Linked DNA regions of Homo sapiens: all the other regions are linked to region 3. Evidence: promoter capture Hi-C in 16 types of primary human blood cells and fetal thymus (Javierre and others, 2016). All regions are on one chromosome and are shown on one strand. The core of a region is centred on a gene start or on the middle of the fragment in contact, and the rest is flanking DNA. Distances in the headings are between cores, read along the strand shown.

Evidence for each region. Contacts are between HindIII fragments. The CHiCAGO score rates a contact against its expected background, and 5 or more counts as called.
Region 1: a contact is called between a fragment that was not itself captured here and the fragment with the promoter of APBB2 in region 3, in 7 of 17 cell types (M2 macrophages, endothelial precursors, M0 macrophages and 4 more). The highest score is 22.9, in M2 macrophages.
Region 2: a fragment that was not itself captured here is called in contact with the fragment with the promoter of APBB2 in region 3 in 1 of 17 cell types (endothelial precursors); the score reaches 6.0 in endothelial precursors.
Region 4: a contact is called between a fragment that was not itself captured here and the fragment with the promoter of APBB2 in region 3, in 1 of 17 cell types (endothelial precursors). The highest score is 9.4, in endothelial precursors.

What each region holds. Positions count from the first base shown.
Region 1 is chr4:40,969,830-40,972,529 of GRCh38, forward strand. The region is part of intron 6 of APBB2 (amyloid beta precursor protein binding family B member 2); the gene reads right to left. Among named protein-coding and RNA genes, the nearest start is that of NSUN7, 220 kb to the left of the region's middle. The HindIII fragment of the contact is 2,943 bases long and covers 1-2,700 here.
Region 2 is chr4:41,079,698-41,082,397 of GRCh38, forward strand. All of the region lies in intron 3 of APBB2 (amyloid beta precursor protein binding family B member 2), which reads right to left. Among named protein-coding and RNA genes, the nearest start is that of APBB2, 130 kb to the right of the region's middle. The HindIII fragment of the contact is 1,067 bases long and covers 857-1,923 here.
Region 3 is chr4:41,213,100-41,215,799 of GRCh38, forward strand. APBB2 (amyloid beta precursor protein binding family B member 2) reads right to left here and starts at 1,443. Exons shown (of 18, transcript NM_004307.2): 1 at 1,306-1,443. RefSeq lists silencers at 818-1,127, 1,538-1,707. The HindIII fragment of the contact is 4,637 bases long and covers 1-2,700 here.
Region 4 is chr4:41,027,966-41,030,665 of GRCh38, forward strand. All of the region lies in intron 5 of APBB2 (amyloid beta precursor protein binding family B member 2), which reads right to left. Among named protein-coding and RNA genes, the nearest start is that of APBB2, 190 kb to the right of the region's middle. The HindIII fragment of the contact is 1,866 bases long and covers 415-2,280 here.

The DNA of each region.
Region 1 (2,700 bases), core at 125-2,624, 240 kb before region 3:
GTTACCCAATATAATATCTTTAAAATCCCTTTAAGTAATAGAATCAGGCTGGGCTTTTTCAATCAATAAAATTGTGCTTGCATCTATATTCTTCACATATAATGATAACACATACTTAAGTGCTGTATAACAGCCCTGTAATTAGTCAGGGATTTTTCAAAACATATCCTGCCCTTACATGTATTGATATTACCCTAAACCTGCCTACGTCAGAGGGGATCCATCTTTTTTCTGCCCTCATCCTCATCCCTTCTACAGGATTGTTTTCTCATTAGGAAGCAACCGTTTATTCAAAGGAGATGGGGAAGAGGGATGAGGGCCCATTATCCTGGAAGTCCCTTAATCCTCCTACCCTCCCAAATCTTCTAAAAGTTGGACATCTTGGCATGACTATATAAATTAATTTGAAGATTATATGGGAACCACTAATTACTCCTTAATAAGGATCATGAATAAGTGAGAACTTGACTTAAACGTTTATGAACAAAATGAAAGACTTCCTTTCGCATGGCACTGCACTCGATGCCCCGTTTAGTATGGTTTCAATCTCATTTTTTTTCTCATTCTCCTCAGAATCAATTTCCTCATTTTTTCCAAGCATTGATTTTAGATTAACATTGCAACCTCTCCCCACTCCTCCTTTTTTTTTGAACCAAAGGCATTTAAACTAACTGCATTTGGGTTTTGTTTGTTTTAAGACTGAAGACAGCTTCATGCATCCATTCTACTTCAGCAATGGTCTTGCCAGTGAGACTAGAATGCTCTGACACCACGGGCTAGACTCAGAGTAGTTCTCCCGAGGGGTACTTCCTATCTCGGGACACATGAAAATGTATGGGAGTGATGGGTTCCCACAATGAGGCACCACTGGTAGGTAGAGGCCAGGCACACTAAGTGACCTGCAATGAGCAGGTCACGTTAGTTAAGGGTAACCCACTGCCCTCGTTTCCTGGAACCTGGCCAGTTTTAGCACTGCAAGTCCCACAAGCCAGGAAACCCCTCAGTCCCAGGCAAACCATCACCTTAAGTCCAGCAAAACCAAAGACTGTCCCTTCCCAAACATTGGAGGGCTTCCTCTCTCTCAGACAGTACATATACATTTGCCCCTATGTCTTCTAAGAATTCTCCAAGGTCCAATAACTAAACAGTCCCCTTCTGACTGTGCCATTTATTTACAGTTTATGTCTCAAGAGAAGAAGCATTTTCCTTCATACATACTTGTAACCTTAGAAGTTCCTAGTATGGGTGAACCTTCAAGCTCGCAATGATTCCTATACCAAGGCTATGAAACATCTTCTTATTGCTCAGTAGATTTCTACCGACTGATAAACTCCAGCAAAACATAACGGGGGCTATTAACACGATTCTTTCTTATGAGACTCGAACTCTAGGAGGAAGAAAAAAAATTAATCCTAAAATTTAAACATACTGAGAAACAAACCAGTGACTTTTTAAACCTGAATTCTCTTATCTTTCATCTCTTTCATTAATTTTTTTACAAGTAATTTCCTCCATTACTTTTAAGCTGAGAAGGCATGTTATAGTACTGACAAGTGCAAAAACTAAATTCTCTACTTATTCATTCGAATAAAGGACACAATAATTGAAGTGAGATCTCTAAGGATTACATTATACATCTTTATGCAGAAGCAGGAGGAGCTTTCTCTGGGAAAATGGTTATGTCAGCTGCTTTCCATTCTCTTTAAATTTTCCCATTCTGAGGCTATTAGATAACATAACCGCTCATGGCTTCTGCAATATTTTTCCCAGAAACGTTTTCCTTATATGGTCATCAAAGGAGCACTGATCTCTATTTAGCAATAGAACTTAAGAGGCCTGAAGGAGTTAATATCTCTAATTTAGTACTAGAAAATGTTTCAAAAGTAGAGAAAGAAAACCTATCATATATCCCCTTCTTTTGACACCTTTTGAGTCTTAATCTGACACCAGGTGGCAGATATTTTGCTTTAACATTAAAATTAGTGAAAGTAATCCCTTAAATTCTTGATCTACATTCAAACCATTGACTTATTAATAGGTATGAAAAGCCTATAGTGCATAATGAATCCTTTCATGTTCAGATTTGAGCTTCAACTTTAGCGCGTATCCTTACGGGACAATTAATTCATAAGAAGAGTGACCAGAGAAAACTAAAATATAATATTTGGTTTCAATCTCTAACATCGAACAAAAGTGCTCTCAACAAAAAATAAAATTCCCACAAATAAAAATCCACACTTAGATAAATTATAGACTATTTTTACTGCTCAATTTTATACAGGATTAATCCAACAATCCTTTAAAATAGCAAAATCCTGGCCGGCTGTGGTGGCTCATGCTTGTAATCCCAGCACTTTGGGAGGCCGAGGTGGGTGGATCACAGGGTCAGGAGATGGAGACCATCCTGGCTAACAAGGTGAAACCCCGTCTCCACTAAAAATACAAAAAATTAGCCAGGCGTGGTGGCGGGCGCCTGTAATCCCAGCTACTCGGGAGGCTGAGGCAGGAGAATGGCATGAACCCGGGAGGCAGAGCTTGCAGTGAGCCGAGATGGCGCCACTGCGCTCCAGCCTGGGTGACAGAGCGAGACTCCATCTCAAAAAAAAAAAAAATAATAATAAATAAATAAATAAAATAGCAAAATCCCTAATATATTTAATTTGTCCACTTTTATATACTTTAAGTCATCCACTAATTTTC
Region 2 (2,700 bases), core at 140-2,639, 130 kb before region 3:
GCCATCACACCCAGCTAATTTTTGTATTCTTAGTAGAGACGGGGTTTCACCGTGTTGTCCAGGATGGTCTCGATCTCTTGACCTCGTGATCCACCTGCCTTGGCCTCCCAAAGTGCTGGGATTACAGGCGTAAACCACCGCGACCGGCCAGCTCACCTATTCTTTATATTAGTTTCTACCATTAGCCAACCCATTCAGAGTTCTAAACCACTAATTGACCTCACAACAACCTCACTTTGGAAATGTAAGCAGCTTGTGAATCGGGAGCTGCCACTGTTTGCGTGTGGCCAGAGACATGCTCAGATTCTTACTGTTGTGAATGGGCAGAAGAGTAGTGGGTGAGGAAGAACAATTTTCTTTGTCTTTCCACTGAAACACAGCTTTCAGAGAGACGAGGCAGTTTGAAAACCAGTGGTCAGGAACTACACGACTATGAAAATGCAAACCAAGGCATCCAAAGATTTACATTCAACTGTAGAAACATCAATATTGCTGAAAAGCTACACCCATCAATTCAGCATTCTGCAGCACATTTAGTTCCCAGTCTGAGAACACTGAACCTGGGCAATTTATCTGCATATGCCTCAGGCTAACCACACAAATTTTGCAGACAAAGCTAGAAGTTAAGATAGAGAGCTTAGAATGCACTGTTGATGTGACCAAAAGGGCTTCATAAAGGAATCAAATGCAGTAATGACATTAATAGAAATGTGGATGCAGAGAAAGAAAGTCTCTGTGGTGCCCCACTGTCTCTGAAAACTGAGGACGGCTTTCATGACAAAGAAGTAACCTTTTGTTAGCTGTACACAACAAGATCATACAAACCCGATAAAGAGGGCTTGCAAAATAAATGCAAAGCTTGATGCCTGCATATAATTTTCCCTCCTGTGGTGTTATTTCATAAAGACTTGTCAAGAGATCAATCCCTCAGTCACAAAAGTCAGGCTACACATCACCTTGGGGGACAATTATTTAATTTCAGTTGGTGATGTAAATGCTCCTTTTTTTTTTTTTTTTTTTTAAAGATGTTGTTTCACTCTTGTTGCCCAGGCTGGAGTGCAGTGGCATGATCTCTCCTCACCGCAACCTCCACCTCCCAGATTCAAGCAATTCTCCTGCCTCAGCCTCCCGAGTAGCTGGGACTACAGGTGCCTGCCACTACACCAGGCTAATTTTTGTATTTTTAGGAGAGTTTTTTTGTTTTAGGAGATGTTTTGTATTTAGGAGATATTTTTGTATTTTAGGAGTTTCACCATGTAGGCCAGGCTGGCCTGGAACTCCTGACCTCAGGTGATCCACCTGCCTCGGCCTGTAAATGCTACTTCAAATTTGACCAATTGCCAAACTACCTTTACCACACATTCTTCTACGTAGTCAGTTCTCTTGACGTATCTAATGGCCACTAAAACAAGAGTTTCATTCCACAGCTGTCCAAGTGAGTTACACTATGCTCACATGGTATTTTGAAGAGCTGAGATAAATTTATCTCAGTCAATCCCAGATTATTCCTCTCTTGCTTCATTTGAAGATCACACAACAGGACAGTGATTCTGCACAGCAGTGTGTGTGTGTCTGTGTGTGTGTATGTGTGTACGTGTGTACACATGTGTGAAACTGTACAATCTAATCACCACAGCTCTGCAAAGAACATGGCACAATTCTATTCAGGTTTCAGAAATGGAAAGACAAAAAGGGAAAAAAAATCCCAAGAAATCATTCTCAAAAGCTGTTTCCAGAATACCTTCTTGAGAAATTTAAAAGTAGGGTCCACTTTGTAATGCATGCGTATAAAGGAGGTAAATTCATAGCTAGCTAATCACCTTTAATGCTAGAACCATAAATGGCTATTTCCAAAATATATTCATTGTGTCAAATGCCTGAATTGATACTTAGTTATATAAAATTTTTTTTCCATCTCAACAAAGCTTTAAGACAGCCTCCAAACATTTATACACAGGGGTTTTACCTTGTCCAGTGAAGGTTCTACTTCCAACCAACACAAGTACCAGAATTTTAAACTTTTACTATAAAAATCTCTATGGGATTATATAATCTTTCAACCATCTTAACTTGAAATTTTTTTAACTAAACAAATATGACAAGACAGAATTAAAATTGCATTGATCATAGAATATCAACTGATAGTCAATGAAGTACTAAGGAAAGTATAAATTGGTGAAATATTGTCATTCGTTTAAAAAACTACAATTAAAAGCAAGTCAAATGAACTACCGATACTTTGACACCTACTACAAATACAGCAGATTGTAGTAGGTATAGAAAGGAAAAAGACTTGTGACACAGTTACTGGCAACAGGGAACTTAGTATATTGGAGGAACATGACACAGTATGTTGGAGGAACATGACACGGAACTCTAGACAAACATTGGATCACAGGACACACGTTTAGACTTAAAAGGAAGTTATGGATAGGTCAGGAGGGGCCATTTTCTGTCAGATAAACCTATTAGACACATTTTAAAAACGTAACATGGTATGTCCACACCTCATAACTTAAAAGAACACCAATCAACAATGCTCTCAAAGTAAATTACATGCTAAGAAACTTTAACCCTTATCTTTCCAACATCCCTCATCACACAGTACTTATTTTTGATAAGTTTGAGTCTCCCACTATGCAACAAAATATCAAACATCGGGGGGTGTCCTATTTAACTTTGATTCCTTAGCTCTTGGAA
Region 3 (2,700 bases), core at 193-2,692:
AAGATTTAAGAGAGTAAACTCCAGAAACAACAGATCAAACTGCCATTGTGTTTGTTTTTTTTAAATCAGTGAAATATTAAAACAAATGATAAACCCATGCCAACCTCACAAAGTTTCCTCATTCCTTGGAATTCAAACACCACCGATGGCATCATTTTATGATAATCCTTTGGGTATTTCACGTAAGTAATTAGACACAATGTAAAGCCAGTGACTGAGGGACTTAAACAAACTGTCCCCTCCGAGAGCCCAGTTGGAGCTTCCGACACTGACCTTATTCTCCTCTCAATTTTAACCCTCCTCAACCACTCAATCCATCCAAAAACGTCTGTGACAGTCGTGGCTCTAAAACCGCGCAGAACTTGACTACAGAACGGTCGGTGACAACTCCACATATGATTTATCCAAATTAATTTATTTTTTTGAATTCTAGTCCCATGCTCCCTCGGCTGTTTGCCCCGAACCCGTAGTCTACACCACTTCACCGACGTGAAGACCACCTTTCATTGTTTCTATGGGTCTCAGCATCCTTCCCTCCGTCCAGCTCTGTTCTCGCCGCACAAATGTCATTTCTAGCGTACCACCCTCCATTCCGCCCGGTGGGCAGCGCAGGGGCTTTCGGGTCCCAGTGGCCAGTTTCCTGGAGTCGGTCCCCTATGCACAGCCATTTTCTAGTTAAACGCTCTCTCTGCCACCGAGGGGGAAAAGGAACTTTTCCCCCCTTTCATGTCTCATGGGCTGGCCTCTGAACCCCTCGTGGAGAAGCCAACCCCGGCTCCAACTCCCCGGCAGGAGCGCGCTGCCGCCCAGGAGAGACAGCCGAGCGGCACAGCGGAGGCCGGTGCCAGGACAAGGGGGTGTGCGCTCTTCCCGCAGGCGCCCACCCTCACTTTTCCCCTCTGCAGTCCCCACCCGGGCGCACCGCCTCCAACCCGGTCTCCCCCGCCCCAGGCCCTGCCAAGCCGGGGCTGCTGAGGGAAAGAGGGCGCCGGGAAGCGGGAGGGATGGAAGTCAAGGAGAGTGAGCCCGCAGTCGCCGTGCCACTGGCCCTGCGGCGCGGGCGCAGGGCGCACGGGACTCCGCAGCAGGCGCCCCGCTGCAGATGCCGCGGCAGCTGCTGCAGGTGTGGCTGCGGCTGAGCGGGCAGCAGTGGCCGCGGAGCCCCGGGGCCGGGAGCAGAGGAGAAGCCGCCGGGGGAACCCGCAGCCGCTCGCCGCACGCTGCTGCCGCTACCCGGGTGTTTCCCCAGCACTCTCGTGCTGCCCCGGAATCCGGGGCAAAGGCAAGGAAGAAAGCTGGGCTCACCAGTGGTGCGCGCGGCGCTCGCCTCGGCTCCGGCGCCCAGCGGCTCTGCTCCAGTCTCGCCCTTCCCGGAGCGCCCAGATCAGATGCGGTTACAGCGCACTAGCTTCCTACTTGAGACCAGAACGGGCTCCGGCAACTGAGCATGCTCAGTGCCGTTCCGCGAGTCCCGCGCAGGGAGCGGCGCTGACGAGATTCCACTTCTCCAGGCTTTGGCAGCGGCTGCGCGAGGGAAGGCTGGAGGGACCCGGCGGGGAGGGGGCCGAATGGGAGAAAGGCGGGGCCGGGGGGTGGGGGCCGGGCAGAAGGAGGCGGGCCGCGCTCCCAGGGCGACCCCTGCAGGTGGAGGCGGCAGGGCCTGCGGGAGGCACCCTCCCCAATCGCCTGGGAACACGCAGGGAGGCAATGGGTCCCCCAGTAAGACCCAAAGGCAGGACGTGCAGTGCAGCCCGGGTATCCCCTCCGTGTGGCTGGTGTCTGTCTGCACCAAAAGGCAGTTGGGTTACCTTAGCCCTGGCTTTTCTCCCACACGCCAGCATTCCCTTGCAATAGGAAAATGTCCCCACAGGAGAGCTGCCCACACCCACCCAGGCTAACTGCAAGTTGTAGGCGACACCTTCTCCTTCCTTCTACCTCCTATCCCCACCCCCAGGCATATGCCGCACACACACTCTTCTTTGATCCGGAAATCACAAGATAATATCAGGGGAGAGATACAACTGCCGGAGAGGAAAAGGAGGTTTTCCTTTCCATTGCCAATAATATTATCTATAACTCTAATTGTAAGCGTGCAAACAAAGCCCTGATAAGAGTCGAGTCTCAGTAAACGGTAAACCGTGCTCTGCCCCAGACGCTGTGAATGACATCCCCAAAGTATCCTTAGGATTGCTCTTCACCAGGGCAGCGGTTGTCAAACTGGAGCCTGGATCAGAATCGCCTGGAGGGTTTGCTGAAGTACAAATCCCTGAGTCCCAATCTGTGTCTCTGAATGGGTAGATATGTGGTGGGGCCCAAGCATCTGTATATCTAACAAGTTCCCATGGGATGCTGATGCTGCTGGTGTGAGGACTATACACTTTAGAGAACCCTACCCATACACACACACACACACAGTCCTACCAAGGATCTCGAATTAAAAACTCACGTGATTCTTCCTATGAGGACTCTATGCAGTGGGGTGGGCATTACTTTATTCTTTCCTACATGAGTTTATTAAGGATCCACGAGGTCTTGTACTAGGCCTGAGGATAGTGGTGAATTTAAAAGCCCAGGCCCCTGCTTTCATGGAATTTATAGTCCGGCCGGGTGACAGACACCTATCAAATAATCACTCAAAACGGTTATTTCAAACAGGTAGAGTGCTGGGAGGGAAATGCACAAGGTGCGAATAGAGTGTAT
Region 4 (2,700 bases), core at 98-2,597, 190 kb before region 3:
GTATAAGTTCAGATTTAAGAGTGTGACAAGAGCTAATATTACTGCTGTCATTGCTCTCCTGCATGCATGATGAAGGAACATCTATTATAGCCTGGCACGTGTTTCCTCCTTTTCTGTTAAAAGCCTCGCAAATTTTCTAGGGGAATCAGCCTTCCCCTACACCCATTCAATCATTCAACAGATATTTTTTGTGCACTACTCCATGCCATATATGCTTCTAAGTGCTGAGGATATAGCAGTGAACAAAACCAACAAAGTAAAGATACCTATGGAGCGCAGAGCGCACACTCTAGGGATTAGGCCCATGTGTTTCAGGCAGAGATGATTGTACTCCTTATTTCAGGGGGCACATGGCCAAGGCACAGCCAATCACAGTAGCAAATCCCCAGGGCTCTAGTGGCTGGTTCAAGGAAAAGCTTATGACCCACATGAAGCCAACCATGAGACTTGCCAGAAGGTAAGAGTGGTGCTCTGTTTTCTCTTTTTCTTGAACTAGAAGATATAAGCCTAGAGCTTCAAGGGGTCACCATGAGGAGATAACCTGCCCAGCATGACTGTACCAAAGAAAGCGAAGCCAAGAGACAGAGAGAAAATGTGCAAGCCCTAATGACTGAATCCCTAAAATAAGACATGCCTGAAATATGATACTGCTGGACTTCTCAGGTCGATAGATTTATGTGTTTATTTTGCCTAAGCCACTTGGAGCTAGGTTTTCTCTGTTTTGCAACTAAAAGAGCCCTCGTTAATACACAAAGTATTTTTTATGAAACCTAAACAAAACTGGATAAGCCAGGATCACTCTAATTTCATGACTTGCCCAGCTTCTCTCGATCCCAGCCACAAAGGCCCCAGCACAGATACAACCAGGCCTACTGGCCCTGTAACTCGGACCACATCCTAATACAAACCTGTGCTGCATCCTGTGGTTAAACCTGGCTTTCCCCCTCCTCCTTTTCCCTTTTCTAAGACCTTTAGCCTTTTGTCAAAGAAAGAGTTTGTGAGTAATGACAAGAACTTCTCTCTTCAATAACCTGCTGCTCTCCCTTTACTCCCGCGACATGCTTATAAAATTGGAAACTGACAAACGGGCCCAGGGTTGATAAATGGGCCAAAGGAAGACCAATGTTTGCCCCATGCTTGAATGAAACTTCACATTTGCTTCATTTTTATTTTTCTGCTATACAATTTCATTTCCACTGAGGAGTTAATAGTGAAACCTACCCTGAGGAATGTCACTGTTTGAACTAGATTACAAAATATTAAGGAAATGAAATAAACTCTGATTTTTCTTTTCCTTTTAGGAGGGAGAAGCTAAATAAAGCTGGCTTCCCGAAACTACTCATGAAAGGAAACCTTCAATGTGACAAAAATGATAAGAACTCTGTGAACAAAAGAGGCAAAAGTTATCAATAAGGCAGCTTGGGTCACCGGGCCAGGGAGATGGGAGGATTTGAACCTCAGAATATTCTAACTAGGCGAGCAATGTCACACTGCTGATGCAGAGTGTCAGATACAATCAGATCTTACCCACTTGAGGGTTTCTTGTGTCCCATTAAACTTAACTGCCTGAGGACTCACTCTGTTCAATGTTTGAAGTGGAACTGAGATTTAAGACAGATGTATCACATACTTTTTAATAAACTCAATCTTAACGAGCTTGATTTAGCCATTCCACAATGTATACACATTTCAAAACAACATGTTGTACACAATAAACATATACATGTTTTATTTGTCGATTATAAAAAATAAGTAAGAAATGTTATTTTCTAAAAAAGAAAATCAGATTTGGCAGAAAATCAGATTACACAAACTCACAATGGCTGAAGTTGGCAGAGGGTCTTATGAGAACACCATGTTAGGGATGAGGAGAGAGGTTCAGGGAAGGCTTCCCACAAAAAGAAGAGCTGGCTGGGCGCGGTGGTTCATGCCTGTAATCCTAGCACTTTGGGAGGCTGAGGCAGGCGGATCACGAGGTCAGAAGATCAAGGCCATCCTGGCTAACACAGTGAAATCCCGTCTCTACTAAAAATACAAAAAATTAGCCGGGCATGGTGGCACATGCCTGTAGTCCCAGCTACTCGGGAGGCTGAGGCAGGAGAATCACTTGAACCCGGGGGGCGAAGGTTGCAGTGAGCTGAGGTCGCACCACCGCACTCCAGCCTGGGCGACAGAGCTAGACTCCATCTCAAAACAAAAAGAAGAGCTGAGCCGGATCTTGAAGGGTGGAAAGGAGCCCAGCAGTGGACAAGAAAGAAAAAGGCATTCCAGATGGGGGAAAGCTTGCCATTCCCAACATAACACCTGGCAGATGTGATGGTCAGTTATTTAGGAAGCACAAGCAGAATGTGTATATTCAAGTAAGAATTAAGACCTTTGGAGTAGTCAACTTTGGAAATTATATTCCAAGGTCATTTTCTCTGTTCAATTTCTTTTTTACTTTAAGGGACAGGGTCTCACTATGTTGCCCAGGCTGGAGTGCATTCACAGGCACAGTCATCATGCACTACAGCCTCAAATTCCTGGGCTCAAGCGATCCTCCTGCCGCCTCAGACTCCCAAGTAGCTGGAGCTACAGGTATGCACCACTACACCTAGCTCTCTTCCCTGCTCAATTTCTAAGCTGTTTCCATTCTTTAATAAAGCCTCAGTGACTTTCAAAGATAATTTTTTTTTAATAGAGCTCTAGACTTACGGGCAA